Regions from separate parts of the Homo sapiens genome. Here regions 2 and 3 are each linked to region 1. The links are contacts of gene promoters, found by promoter capture Hi-C in blood cells and fetal thymus (Javierre and others, 2016). All regions are on one chromosome and are shown on one strand. The core of a region is centred on a gene start or on the middle of the fragment in contact, and the rest is flanking DNA. Distances in the headings are between cores, read along the strand shown.

What was found. Contacts are between HindIII fragments. The CHiCAGO score rates a contact against its expected background, and 5 or more counts as called.
Region 2: a contact is called between a fragment that was not itself captured here and the fragment with the promoter of DNAH7 in region 1, in 1 of 17 cell types (non-activated CD4 T cells). The highest score is 5.2, in non-activated CD4 T cells.
Region 3: a fragment that was not itself captured here is called in contact with the fragment with the promoter of DNAH7 in region 1 in 1 of 17 cell types (non-activated CD4 T cells); the score reaches 7.2 in non-activated CD4 T cells.

The regions. Positions count from the first base shown.
Region 1 is chr2:196,067,369-196,070,734 of GRCh38, reverse strand. It overlaps DNAH7 (dynein axonemal heavy chain 7), which reads left to right and starts at 1,898. Exons shown (of 65, transcript NM_018897.3): 1 at 1,898-2,038. The coding sequence starts at 2,024. RefSeq lists enhancers at 1,987-2,076, 2,557-2,606. The HindIII fragment of the contact is 14,129 bases long and covers 1-3,366 here.
Region 2 is chr2:196,303,071-196,306,436 of GRCh38, reverse strand. The region is part of intron 13 of HECW2 (HECT, C2 and WW domain containing E3 ubiquitin protein ligase 2); the gene reads left to right. Among named protein-coding and RNA genes, the nearest start is that of HECW2-AS1, 45 kb to the right of the region's middle. The HindIII fragment of the contact is 2,351 bases long and covers 75-2,425 here.
Region 3 is chr2:196,281,430-196,284,795 of GRCh38, reverse strand. The region is part of intron 14 of HECW2 (HECT, C2 and WW domain containing E3 ubiquitin protein ligase 2); the gene reads left to right. Among named protein-coding and RNA genes, the nearest start is that of HECW2-AS1, 23 kb to the right of the region's middle. The HindIII fragment of the contact is 4,051 bases long and covers 1-3,366 here.

The sequences.
Region 1 (3,366 bases), core at 649-3,148:
TATTTCTATTTTAATTTTTGGAGGAACTGCCATACTGTTTTCCATACCAGCTGCACCATTTTACATTCCCACCAGTGGTGCACAAGAGTTCCAATTTCTCTACATCCTCATTAACACTTGTTAATATTCTGTACATTAATCCCTCATCAGATTTGCAAATATCTCCTTCCATTCTGTGGACTTTTTTTTTTTTTTTTTTGAGACGGAGTATCACTGTGTCGCCCAGGCTGGAGTGCAGTGGTGTGATGTCGGCTCACTGCAACCTCCGCCTCCTGGGTTCATGCCATTCTCCTGCCTCAGCCTCCCGAGTAGTTGGGACTACAGGTGCCCACCACCACACCCGGCTAATTTTCTGTGTGTGTTTTTAGTAGAGACAGGGTTTCACCATGTTAGGCGGGATGGTCTCGATCTCCTGACCTCGTGATCTGCCTGCCTCGGCCTCCCAAAGTGCTGGGATTACAAGCGTAAGCCAACACACCCGGCCTGTGTGGATTGTCTTTTTACTGATGAGAGTATTCTTTGATGCACAAAGGTTTTTTATTCTGATGCAGCCGAATTGTCTATTTTTTCCTTGTCGTTTTGGTGTCATGTCCAAGAAATCACTGCCAAATCCAATGTCGTGAAGCGATTCTTCTAAGTTTTCTTCTAAGAGTTTTATAGTTTAAGACCTTACAGTTACATCTTTGATCAATTTTGAGATAATTTTGTATATGATGTTTTTAGGTAAAGGTCCAACTGCATTTTTTTCCGCATATGGACATTTAGTTTCCCCAGCATCATTTGTTGAAAATAAATTGTTAAGGTCACTATAGTCTTGTAGTAAGTTCTGAAATCAAGAAGTGTGAGTACTCCAACTTTGTTCTTTAATTTCAAGATTGTTTTGGCTATTTATGACCCCTTGGGGTTCCTTGTTAATTTCAGGATGGAATTCTGCCATTTCTTAGCATAAAACTTTTCAGTGGAGGTCAGTTGCTTTTGACATCCAAACTCCTGCCCTTTTATAGGGTCCTTTAAGATATATCACCTGCTTATCACCTCAGCTTCTTCTCTAGACTGGCTCCAATCCCCTTTATCCAAACCTACTCATCGACCTCTCAGAACCATTTTCACTGCTTCCAATAGCTATGCTCTCTTGTCTCAGGCCTTTGTATGTGACCTGCTTTTTGCCCGGCATTCTTTGCCTGGCATTTCTTCTTCCTTCACATTTCAGCTTCCACATCCCTTCCATGCCCTCCATGAGAAAATTAGTTGGTGCTTTATGTTCTCACTGAGGACTGCCATTCTTAGCACCGTCTCCACTACACGGTAAGTGCTTGGCTTGGACACCCCCCAGCCTGTGGCGAATGGATGTCTTGGTCACATTTGTGCTTAGCACACCACTTTTCATGTAGTAAACCATCTGTGAATGTTGGTTTCAAGAATTGTTGGAAGGTTCCTTTACTGGTATTCTTCCAAAGGATAGTTTTCTGGAGTGTGGGAAGAGTCAACAGCACAGGGGTTGGAAGCACATGAATAATGAAAGGTGTTTACTGGATCCTGCCTCGCATTACTCCACTCGCCCACATTAGCAATGAAATCTGTAATCATTTCATTCCAGTGTTTCTCCGAGACCTCTGAGGGGTTAAGGCAGCAGTCCTGGGCATCCGGCTTATTTAGAAGGAGGGTGCGGAAGTGTGAGGATCTACTTCAGTAATCAGAGGATATTGGAGGAGACCCACCCAGTGTCTTTGGTTATTCAACGCACACCTTAGACCTCACAACACTGGCAGCAGCGCCCCAGAAAGCTCCTCTTGCGGGACCGCGCGCCAGCTTCCGGGTCCAGCCCCAGAAGGAACAGATGACCGGAAATGGAACCTGCGCGGGCCCGTTGCTTAGCAACAAACGCTGCCCGGACGCTAGACGGCTCTGGTGCGGAGGGAGCTGAGACCGCTGCAAGTCCCGGGGCCCTGCCTCTATCGTCCTAGGGGTTCCGCGGGCAGGAGCAACCCAGAAGCACCGGTGAGGCCAGCGCGTCCTCGCAGCCATGAGCAGTGAGCAGGTGAGAGGGCTGCTCTTTGCCAGGCTCGCCGCCGCCGCGACGCTTCCCAGGCGTTTCGGAAGTGGTGGAAGCCCCTCCTGCCTAGCGAACTCCCCAGCTGTGACTCCGCGGTGTACAGCTTCCTTCACCCCACTTGTGGCCTGGGTTACTGAGCGCTTTCCGTGAATGCCCTTATAAGTTCCCTTCCCAGCTGTTTGCCCTTGGTCGTCATAACAACCAAACCTAGCCGCCTAGCGGCGCGCCAGCAGGGGGAGCCACAGCCCAGAGCACCCCCAGAGTGCTAATGGCGGTGTGCTTGGGTGAGAGGCGGCTCTGCGAGGAGTTGCAGCGGGTTTGGGTTCTAAGGTGGGAATCGAAGCCAACTCCTAGCCATGTGACTTTGGACAAATCTCTTAGTCTTTGTAAGCCTTAGTTCTCCCACCTCTTATGCAGAGCGGGGGAAACATCAGAACAACTTTTCTTCTTTTTGAGGTTGTTGTCAATTTCAAATTAGATACCATGCCATACCATAACTATACAATATTATACTATACATGAAAGGCCTTGGTAAGTGACATATGGCACTTCTTAAGATGATATTCCATGGTATGTGATAAAAGATGCACTTTGCAATAGCTGCTTTTCTTTCTCTTTTTTTCTCGTTTTTTTCCTTTCTGTCTTTCTCTCCTTTTTCTTCTAAGAATTCTTTCTTTATTGAACTTAAGAGCAACTAACAGAAAGGCAGAACAATGGTCAGTCGTCTTAATATCAGCACAGAATGGGAAGATATTAAACGTGGTCATTATTCTGGCTAGCTAGAAAATAACTCTAGCTTTCTACGTAGTGATGAATAAGGAAAAGGACTCTATAAACCTCCTGGAAGAAAAACAGTTGTTTTTAAGCCTGCAAATTTCATTTAGCTTTTAAACAATATTAAACGGTAATTATTTCTTTTTTATTGCTTTATAATGCTTTTTTCGGTAGTGTTAGAATTTATTGTGGAAACAGTATTAAAACGGATTTAGTCTCCTATCCATTGAGTTGTACATTACTAACAGAACTATGTGAAGATCCTGATTGGTTAGTTCATCAAATAAGTAATTAATACCTGAAATGCTCAAGAAAATTTGGTTTGAACCTTTTTAAAAAAATAAGTATAATTTAAGAACTAAGAAATGGACACTGATTCATATGCTAAAGTATAATTAGTATTGGTATTAATAATAAAAGAGTAAATGACAAGCAAAAAACAAAAAGTTCAGATACAAGTAACCAAAAACACTGAGCAATTGTTTAATAGATCTTACTAGTTTTTTTCTACATGATATTAATGTAATCAGATTTAAAAA
Region 2 (3,366 bases), core at 1-2,500, 240 kb before region 1:
TGATCGTTGTTTCTGTAGTAATAGCAGGAATGATAATGGCGAATGTTTCCAGAGCACTTAGTGTGTTCCAAGCTTTGTGTTGAGCACTGTACACTTTAACCGGTTTAGTCCAAAGAAACCGTTTGAGTTCATTGGGCTGCTATAACAAAGCACTGTAAGCTGGGTGGCCTATAAGCAACAGAAATTTATTTCTCATGATTCTGGAGCTGTGAAGGCCAAGATTGAGGCACTGGCAGATATGGTGTCTGATGACAGTCCATTTCCTTGTGTGTAGATAGCATCTTCTCCCTCCATCTTCATATGGTCTAAGGGCGGAGGGTGCTTGCTCTCTCAGGCTTCTTTTATAAGGGTATTAATTCCTAATTACCTCTTAGGTCACCTCCTGCCCCCATCTCCTAATACTATTATATTGGTGATTAGGTTTCAACATATGAACTCTGGGGGACACAAACATCGGACCCATAACAGGAGGATTTAAAGGATTATTCCACGAGTCTCCGAGGGCTGAGGGAGTGGCTTACTGAAGATAGTAATTAAAGGAAGGTCATTTTAACTGCACATGAAGTGATTTAGAATGAGGGAAACATTGGCCATAGAAGTCTAGCAGGATATAATCCATTCATCATGGCATGTGTTGATAGGAACCTGTACTAGGATATAAGAAAATAGACAAAAAGGATTCAGCATGAGAGGAATCGCAGACAGGGAGTTGACAAGATTTGGTGGGTAAGTAGGCAGAATAGAAACTGAAGAAGTTGACCTTGAGTATTAATAATAATAATACATAAATAATGAACAATACATAATTAATAATACTAGGAAAATTCGAATGAGGGACTTGTTAAAGGAATTGAAGGAGAACATATTGAATTTAACAAGACATATCCTACACTTTCAGAAAAACAGAGTAGATCATAGAGAAAAATAAAAGTCAACATAGTCCTATCACCAGGAGTATGTGGTGAGGTAATTAGTATATATTAATACATATTTACTTATGTTAATATTTTTCTGCCTTCTTTAGCTTTGCTTTACAAGTATAAACATCTGTCTGCCTTTCCTCATCATTGTCTCCTGGTTTACAGGTTTAGCTTGGAGCAGAGAAGACTTGGGAGGAGAGTAAGCAACGAATAACATGCTAGCTATCCTCATATATTATGAGAGAGGGGTTAGATTTACTGAGCACTCAGCTTCGCAAGTTTGTTGATGATTATGTGCTAGGCACTGAGCTAAGACCTAGGGATACAGAGATGACAGCAACTGTGGGCCCTGGCATCCCAGACTTGAGAGCAATTATAATGTCATAACCAGAATTACAAGTGCAATAATGGATGGCTATAGAAGATACACTGCTGGAGTGGACGATTAACTCCAAAGGGAAGGCACATGGAAGGGGCCATAGACAGGTTTGGATTTGAGATTAGTTTTAAAGGCTGATTAAGAGCTTGTCCCAGAAACAAGATGGGCAGGAGTACTCTAGGTAGAAGAAGCATCATTTGCAAAACAATCGATTCGTGAAGCTGCAAGTCTGTCTTGATAATTACTGCAGAAGTTCTAAAACTGGATTATTAGTATTGTAAGCAATTCGGTGTTGCTGGTGTATTGAGAACATAGGACACTAGTGAAAGTCAGATTTGAGCCTGGGAAGGGATACAGAAGCTAGGCTACACAAACCTAAACTCATATATGGGACAATTCTAGGAGGTGACAGGCTTTCATGCAAGGCAGAATGGGCTAACATTTAGAGTTGTCACTGTAACACAGAAAAAAATCATGCTTTAATAGGAAGAGACTCAGACTTGGAGTCAGAAGGCACAAGCTCCCCTTTGTTTTTTGTTCATTTGTTCATGCCTTCATTTAATCAGTATTTATTAAATGCCTGTGATTTGCCTGGTACATTCTAGACTCTGGGAATAGAGTGGTAAATAAGACAGAGTAGAATATAGTTAACAGACTAGTGAATAAAAAAGATAATGCAGGTACTGTAGTGTGGTGTGAGGCAACTGAAACCACACACTGGGATAGAGTTACTTGGGGATGAGGTGGAGGAGGCACTATTTTATTTTATTTTATTTTTTAATCTCAAAATCTCACAAGGAGGCACTATTTTAGATCAGGTGGACAGGAAGGCCTTTCCAAGGGAGCCACATTCAAGCCGTCATAAAATGCCCAGAAGCCGATAAGGTAAATGTCTGAGAACAGAACCTGCCTTGCCAAGGAAGTGCAGAGACTCAGGGGTAGGAATGAGTTTTCTGTGGCACATAATATGGTCAGGGAAGCGTGCAGGGCTACAGAAGGTTGGGCTTGCATGATCTGGCAAGGTATTTGGGCTTTATTCTGAAAGGGTTTTCTATATGGGAGTAATTTAGAGTTTTTTAAGTTCCTTCTAGCTGTTATGCAAAGAATGGGTTTTAGAGGGCAAGCTTGGCATCAGGGAGACTAAGTGAAAAGCTACTGTGGTAAGGCATGGAAGTGGCTTGGGCTAACGCAGTTAGCAGTAGAGACGGTGACAAATGGATGAATATTGGATATATTTTGAAGACAGAGATGACATTCTTGCTAATAGATTGGAATATGGGATAGGAGAAAAAAGGGCTTCAAGAAGGAGCAACTGTAGCTAGACTAATAAAGTAGAAAAGAGATAAGACTCAAATAAACACAATCAGAAATGATAAGGGACAGATTACCACTGACCCCACAGAAATACAAACAACCGTGTCAGAGAATACTATAAACACCTCTATGTACATAAACTAGAAAATCTAGAAGAAATAGATAAGTTCCTGGACACATACACCCTCCCAAGACTGAACCAGGATGAAATTGAATCTATGAATAGACCAATAATGAGTTCTGAAATTGAGGCAGCAATAAATGGTCTACCAACCAAAAAAAGCCCGGGATCAGATGGATTGACAGCTGAATACTACTAGAGATACAAAAAAGAGCTGGTACCATTTCTACTGAAATGACTCCAAAAAATTGAAAAGGAAGGACTCCTCCCTAACTCATTCTATGAGCCCAGCATCATCTTGATACCAAAACTTGGCAGAGATATAACAGAAAAAGAAAACTTCAGGCCAATATCCTTGATGAGCATTGATGCAAAAATTCTCAATAAAATACTGGAATCCAGCAGCACATCAAAAAAGTTATCCACCACAATCAAATTGACTTTATCCCCAGGATGCAGGGTTGGTTCAACATATGCAAATCAATACATGTGATTCATCACATAAACAGAACTAAAGACAGAAACCACATGATTATTTCAATAGACGCAGAAAAGGCCTTCGATAAAATTCAACATCGCTTCATGTTAAAAACTCTCAATCAACTAGGTATTGAAGGAACATACCTCAAAGT
Region 3 (3,366 bases), core at 608-3,107, 210 kb before region 1:
CTTACATAAATAATTGCAGGCTATTCAAAAACTGTGACATAAAGTGATCCAAATGTACTAGGTCAGCTTCATTGCTGGCTTGAACTAGGTAGCATTTCCTGTGGGAAAGTGATCCATTTTCCTGACATAATTGATATGTGTGTCACAAATAGAAATGGCATGCTTGGACTTTGCATGCTCTTCTCTTCATTTTAAAGTAGAATCTATTTTTCACAATTCAGCTGTGACCTGAGTAATTTCCTTTATGTGAATAAAGCAAAGCACTAAGGAAACCTGTCCAAGGTCACACAGTGGGCCCAGAGCAGAGCCAAAACTCACACCAAGGGATTGCTCCTTAGAAGTGCTATATTCAGTCAGTGCCCTAGCTGTGTGGCTTTGATGGAGGTCTTAATTGAGACTTTTCCCCTAAGTACTTGGCAGATGTAAAAAACATGTGTAAACAATATACACATTCCATTTGACTCTGAAATAGAGCCCCTTGTGGGATACAAATAGGACCTATTCTCCACCCATGGCCATCCTTCCAACAGATTAGCGATGAGAATTGGACGCAGTATGTAGAGCATGCTGTCTGGGATCAGTAGCAGTCTTTCCACTTGAAACTTTGCAGTGTTGAAACTGGTGAGGCCAAGCACTGTGAGTGGCTGTTACCGTCAGCCTCATTCAATACATAATGAAATGTTTTCCTAAAATAAAGTATGATATAAGGTGTGAGGGGAGTGGGAAGAACATAAAAAGGAAAAGATGGTAGGCAGAAAGCAGAATGGAAAAAAGGAGATGATGTATGAAAAGCAGAGAGGTGGGGAAAAAGATATTGCTCATTGGGCTTTGGGGTCAGACAGAAACATGGGTTCAAATCCCAGCTTGGTAAGTTCCAACTGTACATTTCACTTAAATTGGGAATTGTATTCTGGCTGTATTAAAGGTGAATGATAGATATATCATTATTCACCAAATAGGGAAAATCCCTACATATAATGGTGGTTTCTGATTTTACTTTTAGAGAGACTGTCTTTCCTCTGCAGTGTGGAAACTTCACTGTTTCCAGTGGGATTTGATTTGACTGTATTGTAGTGGAAAACCCATATACGTTTTAACATACAAGACTGTATTCTCACCAGGCATGGTGGCTTACGCCTGTAATTCCGACACTTTGAGAGGCCAAAGCAGGTGGATCACCTGAGGTCAGGAGTTCAACACCAGCCTGGCCAACGTGATGAAACCCCGTCTCTATTAAAAATACAAAAAATTAGGTGTGGTAGCGTGGTGGTGCGTGCCTGTAATTCCAGCTACTTGGGAGGTGGAGGCAGGAGAGTCACTTGAACCTGGGAGGCAGAGGTTGCAGGGAGCCAAGATTGTGCCACTGCACTCCAGCCTGGGCAACAGAGCAAGACTCCATCTCAAAAAAAAAAAAAAAAGTGTATTCTCTCACATAAAGAAGTTGAGAGGTAGGCAGTCTAGGGTTGACCAGGGAGTTCATCATGTTGCAAGAGCCCCCATCTCCTTCCAACTTTTTTTTTTTTTTTTTTTTTTTGAGATGGAGTCTTGCTCTGTCACCCAGGCTGGAGTGCAGTGGTGTGATCTCTGCTGACTGCAACCTCTGCCTCCCGGGTTCACGCCATTCTCCTACCTCAGCCTCCCGAGTAGCTGGGACTACAGGTGCCTGCCACCACGCCCAGCTAACTTTTTGTATATTTTTAGTAGAGACGAGGTTTCATCATGTTAGCCAGGACGGTCTCCCTCTCCTGACCTCATGATCCGCCTGCCTTGGCCTCCCAAAGTGCTGGGATTACAGGTGTGAGCCACCACACCTAGCCGCTCCTTCCAACTTTTTGCTCAGCCATCCTTCATTTTGTAAACCAAAAATAAAATTCTAAACCCCTCAACCGTCTGAATGGACCCCTCCTCTCAGCCAAGGACATTCCAAAGTTAACCTAAAAAAGCTAGTTCAGGCCATGATGGAAAGTGGGGGGTTGGATATGCCTTGCAGCTGACCAGCATTAACACCAACACAGAGACCTTAAGACTGATAGAACAGAGCCTTTGAGTCTGATAAGAAATATTTACAGTCTATTCTCTCTGAAGCCTGCTACCTGGAGGCTTCATCTGCATGATAAAACCTTGGTCTCCACAATCGTTATCATAACCCAGACATTCCTTTCTATTGATTCCAGATCTTTAGATAATAACCAATTGCCAAACAGAAAATCTTTGAATCTCCCTATGACCTAGAACCGCCCCCACCCCTGCTTCCAGTTGTCTCGCCTTTCCAGACTGAACTAACATATATCTTGCATGTGTTTTTGGTGTCTTAGCCCTCTCTAAAATGTATAAAACCAAGTCCACCTTGGGTAGACATTCTCAGGATCTCTTGAGGGCTGTGTCACAAGCCATTGGCCACTCATGCTTGGCTCAGAATAAATCTCTTCAAATATTTTACAGAGTTTGACTCTTTTCCTCAACAATCACCATGGTTCAGTATGGCTACTGGAGCTCCACTATTAAATTTGTGTTTCAGAGGGTAGGATGGGTGAAGGACAGAACGAAGGATCATCTGTCCCTTATCAGATTTCCCAGAAGTACTATGTTTTACATCTTACTGGTCAGAACTTAGTCTCGGCCACACATACTTACAAGGAGCCTGTTAACAAACACAGTTTTCACTGGTCCTCCTTTTTTTGAGCCTTGTGTATGGGCTTTAGCAAGAAACACTGTGATCCTTAGGAAACTGTTTCAGAAAAGAAAACTATTATTTGTGAAAATAATAGGACCTCATATTTGACGTGTCACAGGCAGCATGCTCAAAAATTCATATGAACTATCTCAGTTAACCTTCCTTTAATGTAGTTATGATCCCCATTTAACAGGAAAAGAAACTGAGGTTTAAAAATTTTAACTAATTTGCCCAAGGTGACATTGCTAGTGAGTAGCAAACTAGAGCTCAGAACCAGGCTTGTCTTTTTCCAAATTCAAAGCATTTAATCATTATGTTGCCTCCCACTTCTCAATTTTTAAACTGGTACATTTACAATGGGATTTTTAAAATCTTCTGTTTGTGGTTTTAGGGTCTTTAGCTTCCCTCATTTTTTTCCCCCAAATCTTAAGTATTTCGGTAAAAGAACACGCTTTTTTTTTTTTTTTTTTTTTTTTTTGAGACGGGGTCTCACTCTGTCACCTACCCAGGCTGGAGTGCAGTGGTGCAATCTTGGCTCACTGCAATCACCACCTCCCAGGCTCAAATGATCCTCTCACTTCAGCCTCCCAAGTAGCTGGGACTACAGGTGTCTGCCACCACATGCCCGGATAATTTTTGAATATTTTGTAGAGACAGGGTTTTGCCATGTTGCCCAGGCTGGCCTTGAACTT